4 separate regions of the Homo sapiens genome follow, and all the other regions are linked to region 4. The links are contacts of gene promoters, found by promoter capture Hi-C in human tissues and cell types (Jung and others, 2019). All regions are on one chromosome and are shown on one strand. The core of a region is centred on a gene start or on the middle of the fragment in contact, and the rest is flanking DNA. Distances in the headings are between cores, read along the strand shown.

Region 1 (2,700 bases), core at 123-2,622, 180 kb after region 4:
ACCTTGGTTCTCGGTGATCTAGATAAAGTTAAAAGTGAAATAATTAAATACACGTAAATGGGATATGCTTAATGTGTGGTTTAAAATCATAAAATGGTAGAATGGTTCTCAGTTATAGAATGACAATGTCTAGTGTGAAGTTCATGACTTCTTCCTTCCTAGGTTTCCATAAAATGTGCTAAAGAAATGTATTCTTTATTGAGAAAAAATTTTTTGTCTAATCCGGAAGTTACTAAATGGGAGGTTCAAAACATGAGTGAACCAGTGAGTAGAAAAGAGAGATGTAAAGAATATTATGAATAGAAAATGTATTTTTTGTTTGTTTTGCAAGGAAGGATATAAAGAAAGAGTAATTTTATATGTGGAGGAATCCTGTATAGTAAATTCCCTATCCTAGAGTAAAATAACTTTAAGAAAGAGGTAGTATAGAACATGTCAGGAAATTCAGCTATGTTGTAGATGGTCTGTGTAAGTCATCTGCACAGTGCATGAGTGTGGAGGTGGGCGGGCACTCATTGGCCCTTGAACTCCTTTTGAGCAGTATGGAAGCCAAGAACTAGAAGCCAGGAAATGGGGTTGTAAAACTGATTTGTCTATGGATTTTATGTGTTGAGCTGCTGTGGTCTTGGCTTGTAGTAATTACCTATATGAACCTTCCCCCCTCCCCTTTAGAATTTAGGACAGGTTCAAAAGGCCCTCCAATATAAAAATAAAATACTGTCCTTCCCCACAAAGGAAAAAATAGCTCCCCGGTTCAACCAGGAGACTTAGTCTTGCTAAAACCTTAAAGACAGGGTAAAGACAGGGATACCCCAAGAATCAATTACAATGAAATGGAAGGGGCCTTATCAGGTATTGTTAAGTACCCCCACTGCTGTTAAACTTCAGGGAACACCTACTTGGGCACACAGATCCAGGACTAAACCTGTTTCTTATGAGTCACAGGCACAAAGGAAGGGCACTACAACCACAACCAATATCAGTAAAGCTTTGGAAGACCTCTGCTACCTATTTAAAATAATCAACACTCAGCCAGAAGAGGTAATGTAATGCTGTAGATGGGAATAGGAGCATTGATCTTGCTCTTCTTCCTGACTGTAGTACTTCCTTTCTATGGCTTTAACCAGCCACCTCCTCCTGGGAAACATCTCCTGTGGGCTTGTTGGGTATAGAAGCTACTCTAAGACCCAACCAGATACCATGATGCCACTGTTAATTCTGTTTGCTCTTCTAATTAACCTAAGCTAGTGTGTATGTGGACAGGGAGGGTGGACAAAATTCTACAGTAAATATTTCAAAAATTATAGCATCATAGAATCATCTTTATGGCTGCCAGATTTGTCATCAACACCCCCAGGATAGACAGTTTCATCTTCCGACCTATCTGGAAAATCTCAGGACCATGTCCCCAGACCTCCTAACTAACCATAGCACCCCAAAATACCCAAACCCCTATTGTGAAGTGGAACTCTTCCCCACTTAGTGGATCCCCCCTGGACCCTGCTGTCCCCCTGCCCTGACCACTATTATCGGAATCTGGGAAGTTGGGCATCTATATCTCCAGTGCACTCATAACTCTAACATTTGCATCCACTCTTGCATTAATGACACAAAAGTGGAAGCTTCCCTGCGATGCTCTGGTCCAACTCTAGTTGCCAAGTTTCCAAGACCACGGGGAGGTAAATGAGATTCCATTTGTGAGTGAAAAGACCATATATGGTACCTTCTCCCGGATGGGAACATACAAAGGAAAAACAACTGCCTGATCTGGGAAGGTGACAGTACTACCTTCTTCTAGAAAACAAAGATTGTTCAACCACCACCATGAGAACAGGTGGAAAATATCTCTATAGACCCAACCTGGCAATGAAGTATAAACATCGCACCCCGCAGGGCTTCTCTTGGTGCCCTAGTTGGGTTCATTTTTGTTTGTGACTATGAATGGGAAGAAGTCACACCCTGTAACCACTCCAACTCCCTAAGGAGTCACCTCTTCTTTAAGGAATAGCTTTCCCTTGTATCTAAAAAACTTGGAACTGACATGAATGAACGTTGGCCACTCTTACCCCTCCAGGGGTCACAATCTATAACGCCTAGGACCCAAGAATATCAGAAATAAGTAAGCAATAAAACTAATTCTGGCAGGAATCAGGGTGGCAATAGGACTAGCAGCACCCTGGGGTGGCTTTGCCTACCATGAGTTAACGCTAAAGAACTTGGCTCAAATCCTAGAATCCTTAGCCACCAACGGAGATCAGGCATTAAAGAGAATTCAAGAGTTCCCCAGACTCTGGAAAATGTAGTTGTTGATAACAGACTAGCATTGGATTATTTACTAGCTGAACAAGGTGGGGTCTTGTGCAGTTATTAATAAAACCTGCTGCACATATATTAACTCTGGACAGGTTGAGGTTAACATTCAAAAGATCTATGAGCAAGCTACCTAGTTACATAGATATAACCAGGGCACTGCCCCCAACTATATCTGGTCAACCATCAAAAGTGCCTTCCCAAGTCTCACCTGTTTTTCACCTCTTCTAGGACCTTTGACAACTGTCTTGTTACAAATGTTTGGTCCTTGCTTCTTTAACCTCTTAGTAAAGTTTGTGTATTCTAGATTACCACAGTTCCAGAGACAATGCTGGCACAAGGCTTCCAGCCCATCCTGTCCACTGACACGGAGAATGAAATCGTCCTGCC
Region 2 (2,700 bases), core at 32-2,531, 210 kb before region 4:
TTTCTCGTTACCTGTCTTCTTCTTGCTTTTTTTTTTTTTTTTTTTTGAGATGGAGTTTCGCTCTTGTTGCCCAGGCTGGAGTGCAGTGGCACAGTCTTGGCTCACTGCAGCCTCCGCATCCCAGGTTCAAGCAATTCGCCTGCCTCAGCCTCCCAAGTAGCTGGGATTACAGGTGCCTGCTACCATACTCGGCTAAGTTTTTGTATTTTTGGTAGAGATGGGGTTTCGCTATGTTGGCCAGGCTGGTCTTGAACTCCTGACCTCAGGTGATCTGTCCACCTCAGCCTCCCAAAGTGCTGGGATTACAGGCATGAGCCACTGCACCTGGCTGCTTTCTTCTTTTTTTTAGAGGCAGGATCTCTCTCTGTTGCCCAGGCTAGAGTACAGTGGCGTGATCACAGCTCAATGCAGCCTCAAACTCCTGAGCTCAAGTGATCCTCCTGACTCAGTCTCCCAAGTAACGGAGACTACAGGAGTGCCTGGCTAATGAAAAAATTTTTTTGTAGAGACAGGATCTTGCCATCTTGCCCAGGCGGGTCTCAAACTCCTGGCTTCAAGCAATCTTCCTGCCTTGGCTTCCCAAAGTGCTGGGATTACAGACATGAGCCACCACACCCAGCCTAATTTTCTTAATAATTTTTATTTGATAGAATCTGGTGCTTTCTGTGTGCTGCCTAAAAAATCTTTGCCTGCCCAAATGTAGGAGTTTATAGTTTTCATTATTACGTTTAAGTCAATAATTCACTTGAATTAAATTTTGTATCTGGTATAAGGGAGGGGAGGCTCATTTTTTTGGATATGGATATCTGTGTGTTCCAGCTTCATATGAGTGGCAGGGGGTGCACCTGAGGGGTGGGTGGCCATTGAGAGTGACTGGAAGATGTCCTGCAGTCTGGGTGCCTCGGATGCTTCCTGGGCAAAGGCTGAGATTTTTCCTTTCCCACTCCCAGCAGCTCTGTCAGCTCCTCTTGTTTAGCTGGGTCCCCCATTTCCTTGGGCCCCTCTGCTCATTCCCCCTTGCATCCTAGGGGGCCCGAGGGTGGGGTCTGGAAAGGAGGCGGTGACAAGCCCAAGGCCCCAGCCTGGAAGGACCCATCCTGTGGACTTTGCCAACACTGGGAAGCAGCAGCTGCAGAGTTTGCATCTCTGCTCATTCTCTAACTCTACCTGACCGGGAGCGAGTCGGCCGTGTGCTTGGCTCAGTCCATAAAATGAAAACAGTGCTCCCTGTCTGCTTTATAGGAACGTTGTGAAACAAAGCTAGAATTTTAAAGCATTGTAAAATAGTCTGACACTCTAAGCTACAATTCAAATGCGTCTAATATAATATCAGCTTGCATCTCATCTCGAGACACCCAGAAAATACCAGCGACGCCAAACTGCTTCCACTTTTCCCAAACGGCTCTGGTCCCTCCTGGCCTTTGTTAGGTTTTGGTTCTGCTCCATACCTGGACAATCTGTGCAGCACCCTGTCCAGCCCTCGTCTGGAGGAGGTGCCAGCCTCCTGTCACTTCTCTTCCTCTGGGACAGCCCACCCTCTGCTCTCCTTCTTGTTTTTTATGTTCCTCCTGTTCCAGGCCTTTCTGGCTGTCATGAGCATTTACAACTGGCTTGTGGTCCCAGGGTGTTCAAAACCAAAGAGTTCATATCCCAAATCCAGACCAATTGAGCAAAGATTAGGTCCAAGAACGAATGTGGATGTGTGCTCTTAAAGCTTTGCTTGAGGCAATCTACAGTCACATTAGGAGGATGCGGGTGGGTGGCAGCGTCTATGCGAAGCCTCACAGCCTGCTGGGCAAGGCAAAGGTGCCAGGAGGCAGAATCTGTGGTGGGGAGGATGGCGAGGGCTGGAAGGACTGGACCCACCCACTGAGCCGCGGCGAAGTCGCGGGCACAGTACATGCGCGGCAGGTGTTGGGAGAGGGCTCGCAGCGACATCCTGCTGCCCAGACAGTGCCTGGCACATAAACAATTGCTGAAGGCACGAGTGGCCCATGCTTTTGGTACTCCGTCATGAGGAAGCGGGACTTGGGGGCAAGGGTGACGGAAGCGGACTGGCCTTGGGTGACAAAGTGCAGGTGTGTTATTCTCCCTCCAGGAAGAGACCTCAGAGGAGGGCAGATCCCAGACACTCACGAAGCCCCTCCAGGTCCCCAGGAGGACCTCTCATACATGCTTACATCCGTGCCCTAGGACCTCGGTTGCATGCCGCCATCTGCCCCAGCAGAAAAGTTGATCCTGAAGCCAGGCTCGCTCCCTTCTAGGAGCCCCGCTCTTTATGGCTCTGCTCTTCCAGGTTGCTGCTCTGGGGCTTGCAAATGGGGCAGGGCTGACAGAGAAAAGTTTGGACCCTGGACACAGATTGTCTGCAGGGCCCTTCCACTTCCTCCTGGCACTTTAAACCCTCAGTCGCTAGGGACCCTTCTTTCTATGTGAAAGTCTTAGCTTTCAGGACAGGGGTGAGCTGACACTCACTGTCACTCAAGCATGAAAGACTGACAAGGATTGTAGTAACTCATGAGACAGCCCCAGTGAAGATGGAAACTAGTCTCTAAAAGTGGCATCCAAGCCATGACTGGCAAGGCTTACAATCCTTACAAGAATAGATGGAATCCATCCATCCATTCACCCATCCATCCATCCATCCTTCCATCCACCCACCCACCCATCCACCCATCCATCCATCCATCCATCCATCCA
Region 3 (2,700 bases), core at 74-2,573, 160 kb before region 4:
CGAAGTTCTTGTTTCTTAAAGGACAGATTGGCTAAAGCAGCTACAGTTTCCAAAAACCAATGGGAAAAATGGGCACTTGTGTATTTGAATCTTTAACTATATATTTATAAATATAAATATATATTTAACTATATTTATATTTATGTATACATACTGTATATATGCCTGTTTGTACACGTATGTGTATACACATGCATACACACATACACATATATGTGCATAGATAATTAACTTGTTCTCAGCATGTTACATATCCCAAAATCTGGAAGTAGAGGTGCTCAAGTAGGATGAACTATGTTGCTCCTTGATCAGTTGGTTTGCTTCCTGACCAGATGTTGGGAGTGATAACAGCAGGCTCACAGTGTAGTGCTTCTTTGTCCCTGAAGAAATGAAAGAGGAGTGACCTAGCCATCTGCGACGGGCAGCCACCCCAGGGTCGCTCCTGTTCAGCACGGAAGCTTGTCGCCCCCATCCCTATGGATCTGCGTGTTTCACGGACCCTTTGCTCAGTCCCTCTTTAGCTACACTTCATATTTGTTTCTCTGCAAACACAGAGATTCAAGGGTTTTATGAGCCTTCCTTTGGGCCAGCCATTTTCAGGAAAAAACAAAACAAACAGAAAACAGGTGCAGTTCCCTAAGTGGACTCTCTGACTGGGCAGCGGGGTTTTGGGACTGGGAGGAGATGGAAGGGGCAGGGGCTGGGTAAGTGCAGCAGCAGAAGCAGTGCCTGGCCGTCAAGGCTTTGGTAGCCCCAGAGTGACCCAGAGCCTCAAAGGCGTTTAAGCGTGAGCACCGTGGGAGCATCCGAGATTGCCCGGTTGGCTTAACTTATTATTATTATTTTTTTTTGAGACGGAGTCTTGCTCTGTTCCCCAGGCTGGAGTGCAGTGGCACAATCTCGGCTCACTGCAAGCTCCGCCTCCCAGGTTCAAGCCATTCTCCTGCCTCAGCCTCCCGAGTAGCTGGGACTACAGGCGCCCGCCACCACACCGGGCTAATTTTTTTGTATTTTTAGTAGAGATGGGGTTTCACCATGTTAGCCAGGATGGTCTCGATCTCCTGACCTCGTGATCCTCCTGCCTCGGCCTCCCAAAGTGCTGGGATTACAGGCGTGAGCCACCACGCCCAGCCGGCTTAACCTATTTTTAAAAAGTTACTTGCATGTATTTTAGCTGGAAAAAAGAAATGTACAAGGATCAAAAAGCTTATTTTATGATTATAAAGACTTGTGAACGGCCGGGCGCAATGGCTCACGCCTGTAATCCCAGCACTTTGGGAGGCCGAGGCGGCCGGATCACAAGGAGATTGAGACCATCCTGGCTAACACGGTGAAACCCCGTCTATACTAAAAATACAAAAAATTAGCCTGGCGTGGTGGCAGGCGCCTGTAGTCCCAGCTACTCGGGAGGCTGAGGCAGGAGAATGGCTTGAGCCTGGGAGGCGGAGCTTGCAGTGAGCTGAGATCGCGCCACTGCACTCCAGCCTGTGCAACAGAGCAAGACTCCGTCTCAAAAAAAAAAAAAAAAAAAAAAAAAAAAAAAAAGACTTGTGAACAAAACCTTGAATTTTAGGTCTTCAAAAACTTATTCTAAGTGGAATAATGTTTCTCACTTTTCTCCTTTTCAAAGCAATGAAAAAAAATATGATCCTGATTATCTTCACCCCTGAAGAGACTCCTCTTTGTTGGGTGGGAGTGGAGGAGGGCAAAGTCCTAGCCTTAGGGGAGGGCTTCAGTGAGGTCCATTCTATCAGAGCCACCTTTCTGGAAATAAAATTGCATTTGGCAACAGATATACTTTATTTTCTCTTGACAGACAGTAGGTAATGTGTTCTGAAACACATAATAAAAACTGTACTACTCATTTAGAAACAAATTTTAGTAAAATGTTAAAAATATAGGAGAGGTAGATTATTTTCTATGCAAATGAAGCTTTAAAACTAGTTTCCTGGGCTTCCAACCACACTGACGTCTTATCCCCCAGAACACAGGCATGTGCCCCTTCCTACTCTGGACCTGGCTGGGGTGGGCAGAAGATGGGAGGGGGCAGGAGAAATCAGAGGTGCACATTCAACATCCATACATTGAGGAAGGAAGTCACTCCCCTCTTGAACCCTTGCAGGATGCCCTTGCCCTGAGGTCAAACTAAGCTCTTTGGATGAGTCTGCGATGCCTCCAGGGTCTCATCTATCCCTGCCTTCTCCTCAAACAGCAGGGACTTTCAAACCTTTGAAAGCAGCAGCCTCCATTTTGCAGATGAAATCTTGCACACCCTCTTCAAAATGGGCCCCAGCCGAGGTGGATAACAGAGGGTGTTCAGATTGCTGGTGCCTGCCCTCCCTTGGCCTCCACCCTGGCCATCCCCTCCCCACTGCTATGGGACTGCCCTGCCCCATGCCACAGGCAGAGCCAGGTACCAGGGCTCCTGTCCTGGGGAGGGAGAAGCGGCTCCTCCAAGCTCCCTCTGCCCCACACTGGAGCCCCTGGCTGCCTTTCCTCATCCCTTCCTAGTGCAGGGAACTCCCAGGCCGTGGAGAACTCCCAAGGGACGAGATGATGACAAAGATGCTCTGCTTGATTTAACCCAGCAATCCCATTACTGGGTATAAACCCAAAGGAATATCAGTCATTCTATAACAAAGATACATGCACGTGTACGTTCATTGCAGCACTATTCACAATAGCAAAGACATGGAATCA
Region 4 (2,700 bases), core at 75-2,574:
CACTTGAGCCCGGAAGTTTAAGGCTGCAGTGAGCTATGATGGTACCATTGCACTCCAGCCTGGGAAACAGAGCAGGAAGACCCTGTCTCAAAAAAGAAAAAGAAAAAAAAATTGTACATCCGAAGGGAGTCAAAAGTGCTTCAGGGGTTGGCGCGGGGCTGGGAAGTAGAGCAGAGTAAACGGAGGAGAGGGTGCGAGGAAAGATAGCTTGGAATCCTGATCTTTTTAAACAGCTAGAGACAACATTCTAAACACAAAATGAGAAAGAACAGTGTTCAAAAGGTGTCATCAAAGCCGAATGGGGTGGCTTACGCCTGTAATCCCAGTGCTTTGGGAGGTTGAGGCGTAAGGACTTCTTGAGCCAGTGAGTTTGAGACCAGCCTGGGCAACATAGAGAGCCCCTGTCTCTACAAAAAGAAATAAAATTAACCAGGTGTGGTGGTGCACACCTGTAGTCCCAGCTACTTGGGAGGCTGAGGTGGGAGGATCCCTTGAGCCCGGGAGCTTGAGACTGCAGTGAGCCATGATCACGCCACTGCACTCCAGCCTGGGGAACAGAACGAGAACTTCTCTCAAAAAAAAAAAAAAAAAAAAAAAAAAGAAAAAAAAACTGCGTCATCAATACCACCATGTCTCCTTTCCGCTCTATATCAATTATAAAATGGACTTCAGCCCCCAGAGTGCAGGCGATCCAGGGTGCAGTGGTCCAGAGTGCTGGAGTTGGCCCCTACTGGCTGGGAACTGGCCACGGTGGGAGCATTCACACCATGAGAACGGAAGAGAATCGGCAAAGGCTAGAAATCAGGCACCACCCTCTGCCCTGCCCCGCCCCATGAGAGCCAATTTCCCAGCATATCACCGTCACTAAGGTTACGTCAGAGCATCACAAATACCACAAAAGAAGGAACACTTGAAACCCTCCGAGACGACTTTTCGGGCACAAAGCTCCTTACTCAACCCCCAGACTTTGTAGGACGCTGAGCAAAGCTGTCCTAAAAACCACCCCTTTGCGTCCACCCGACTTTTGGCCAGATCAGGATGGAGGCCACCCTGTCCCCAGGGCCAGCCACTTCCCCTCCAGAGCCTCTTTGTCTGTGCACAAGGCTACTGTGGGCTGGTGGCAACATGGGCCCTTTCTGCTCCTCACACCAGAATCTTATCTTTGTGGCTCCTGCCTCCCAGCACAAGCCACATTCACCAAGCAGATGTCACGTTACTCAGGAAATATTTTTTAAACACGCATCTGCTGTGCATCAGACACAAAGCAGCCCTCCCTGCACCGGCCCCGCTCTTACCGCTGCACGTTCAGGATGGAGAAATCATCTCTTCCCTTTCCTCCACTTCACTTTTATGTGGCATATGAACCACTCCCTCCCCTGCTCCGTCATCAACAAACAGGGAGAGAAATGAAACTACTTGATCTGGCCACAGAAATGAAACTGAGTTATCAGCGTGCTCTCCAGATGACTCACAGAGTGGTCCCCAAACTCCAGCTGCATCCGAATCCTGGGAGAGCTGTGGAGACGGGGCGGCTGTCCCCCCACCCCCGCCAGAGAGTCTGATCTGTCAGGTCTGGGCTGGGCCTGAGAATCAGCATTGCTAACAGATTCCAGGGGAGGCTGGCATGGGGGCAGCTCAGAGTGGCTCAGTCACTGGAAGGTTCTGCCCTGACAGTGCCATCCAGTACCACCTGTGTGGCTCTGAAATGTGACTACTGCGACCAAGGAACTGGACTTCGAACTCCATGTAATTTGAATGAATAGCCACGTGTGGTTCGTGTATCGGGCCTCACAGATGCACTCCTGTTACAGCCGAGGACATGCTCTCAGGTACATGATCTGGACGCTCTGAGCTGTCCTGCTTAGCTTCATGCCTGAGCCGCACCTGACAAATGTCACCTCTCCCCTCATTAGGTGCGGAAAACCCAAAGAAGGAGGGTCAACAGCTTTCTCCAAGCACCCGTGCCTGAGGTCCCCGCCGCAAAACCAAGACGGTTTTCTTCCCATTGGAGATAAGGAGGCCCCAGGACAAACCCCAGGCTCCGGAACTCAGCCCTGAGCCAGCTGCATGTCATCTTTCTGGTCCTCAGTTACTTTTCACCTGCAAAAGTGAAGGTGCACAACCGCATGCTCCCTAAGGCTTCCTGCTCTGTGACCAAAGTCAAGGAGGGCCAGGCATTCCCATCACCAGAGCCAAGAGGTCTGGGAACCTCCAGGAGGAGCCCTCCAGACACCGGGGAGGGGACCAAGCCTCTCAAGGACTGGCAGTGATGGCTGGGAGGGAGGAAGCAGGCTCTCAGCTCTCCTATCCACCCGTGATCCTCTCCCAGACATCAACACTATACGTTTAAAAAAACTCCTGAGCTCCTCTTGGCTAAGTCATTGTAGTGACTTCCCTTGAGTGCAGGCTTAACTTTACGGAAGATATTTAGAAACTTAACATGTTTTTCAAAACCTTGGCATTAGAAATATTAACACCAGGAGATCATCGTCAGGATCACCTATCCCTGAACCACTTCTCTTCCCAAGAGCCCGGGCGGACAGAGGCTGAGGAGTGAGGGGAGGAATGTGAATCTCAGACTTGGCAGCGTGATGTGACATTCGGTTTCACTAGGAATGTCTTTCACAACAGGGCCTGGGCCGGCCTACTGCTTCAAGGAAGGCACAAAGAAAGGCCTCAGAGAAGCCGGACAGAGGGACA

The links. The method cuts DNA at HindIII sites, captures the fragments that hold promoters and counts their contacts. A contact is called where the count stands out against the background at its distance.
Region 1: a fragment that was not itself captured here is called in contact with the fragment with the promoter of MX2 in region 4 in 1 of the 25 tissues and cell types used here (small bowel).
Region 2: a contact is called between a fragment that was not itself captured here and the fragment with the promoter of MX2 in region 4, in 1 of the 25 tissues and cell types used here (small bowel).
Region 3: a fragment that was not itself captured here is called in contact with the fragment with the promoter of MX2 in region 4 in 2 of the 25 tissues and cell types used here (H1 embryonic stem cells and dorsolateral prefrontal cortex).

Annotation. Positions count from the first base shown.
Region 1 is chr21:41,180,491-41,183,190 of GRCh38, reverse strand. The region is part of intron 1 of BACE2 (beta-secretase 2); the gene reads right to left. It overlaps PLAC4 (placenta enriched 4), which reads left to right. Exons shown (of 1, transcript NR_148920.1): 1 at 1-2,700. Among named protein-coding and RNA genes, the nearest start is that of PLAC4, 3.4 kb to the left of the region's middle. RefSeq lists an enhancer at 2,667-2,700. The HindIII fragment of the contact is 3,473 bases long and covers 1-2,700 here.
Region 2 is chr21:41,567,491-41,570,190 of GRCh38, reverse strand. The region is part of intron 1 of LOC105372809 (a long non-coding RNA gene); the gene reads left to right. Among named protein-coding and RNA genes, the nearest start is that of PCSEAT, 12 kb to the left of the region's middle. RefSeq lists a cis regulatory region at 1,238-1,260 and an enhancer at 1,037-1,610. The HindIII fragment of the contact is 6,667 bases long and covers 1-2,700 here.
Region 3 is chr21:41,522,962-41,525,661 of GRCh38, reverse strand. No RefSeq gene overlaps it. Among named protein-coding and RNA genes, the nearest start is that of TMPRSS2, 16 kb to the right of the region's middle. RefSeq lists an enhancer at 1-239. The HindIII fragment of the contact is 6,198 bases long and covers 1-2,700 here.
Region 4 is chr21:41,360,651-41,363,350 of GRCh38, reverse strand. It overlaps MX2 (MX dynamin like GTPase 2), which reads right to left and starts at 1,324. Exons shown (of 14, transcript NM_002463.2): 1 at 1,296-1,324. RefSeq lists enhancers at 780-1,619, 1,640-1,899. The HindIII fragment of the contact is 34,961 bases long and covers 1-2,700 here.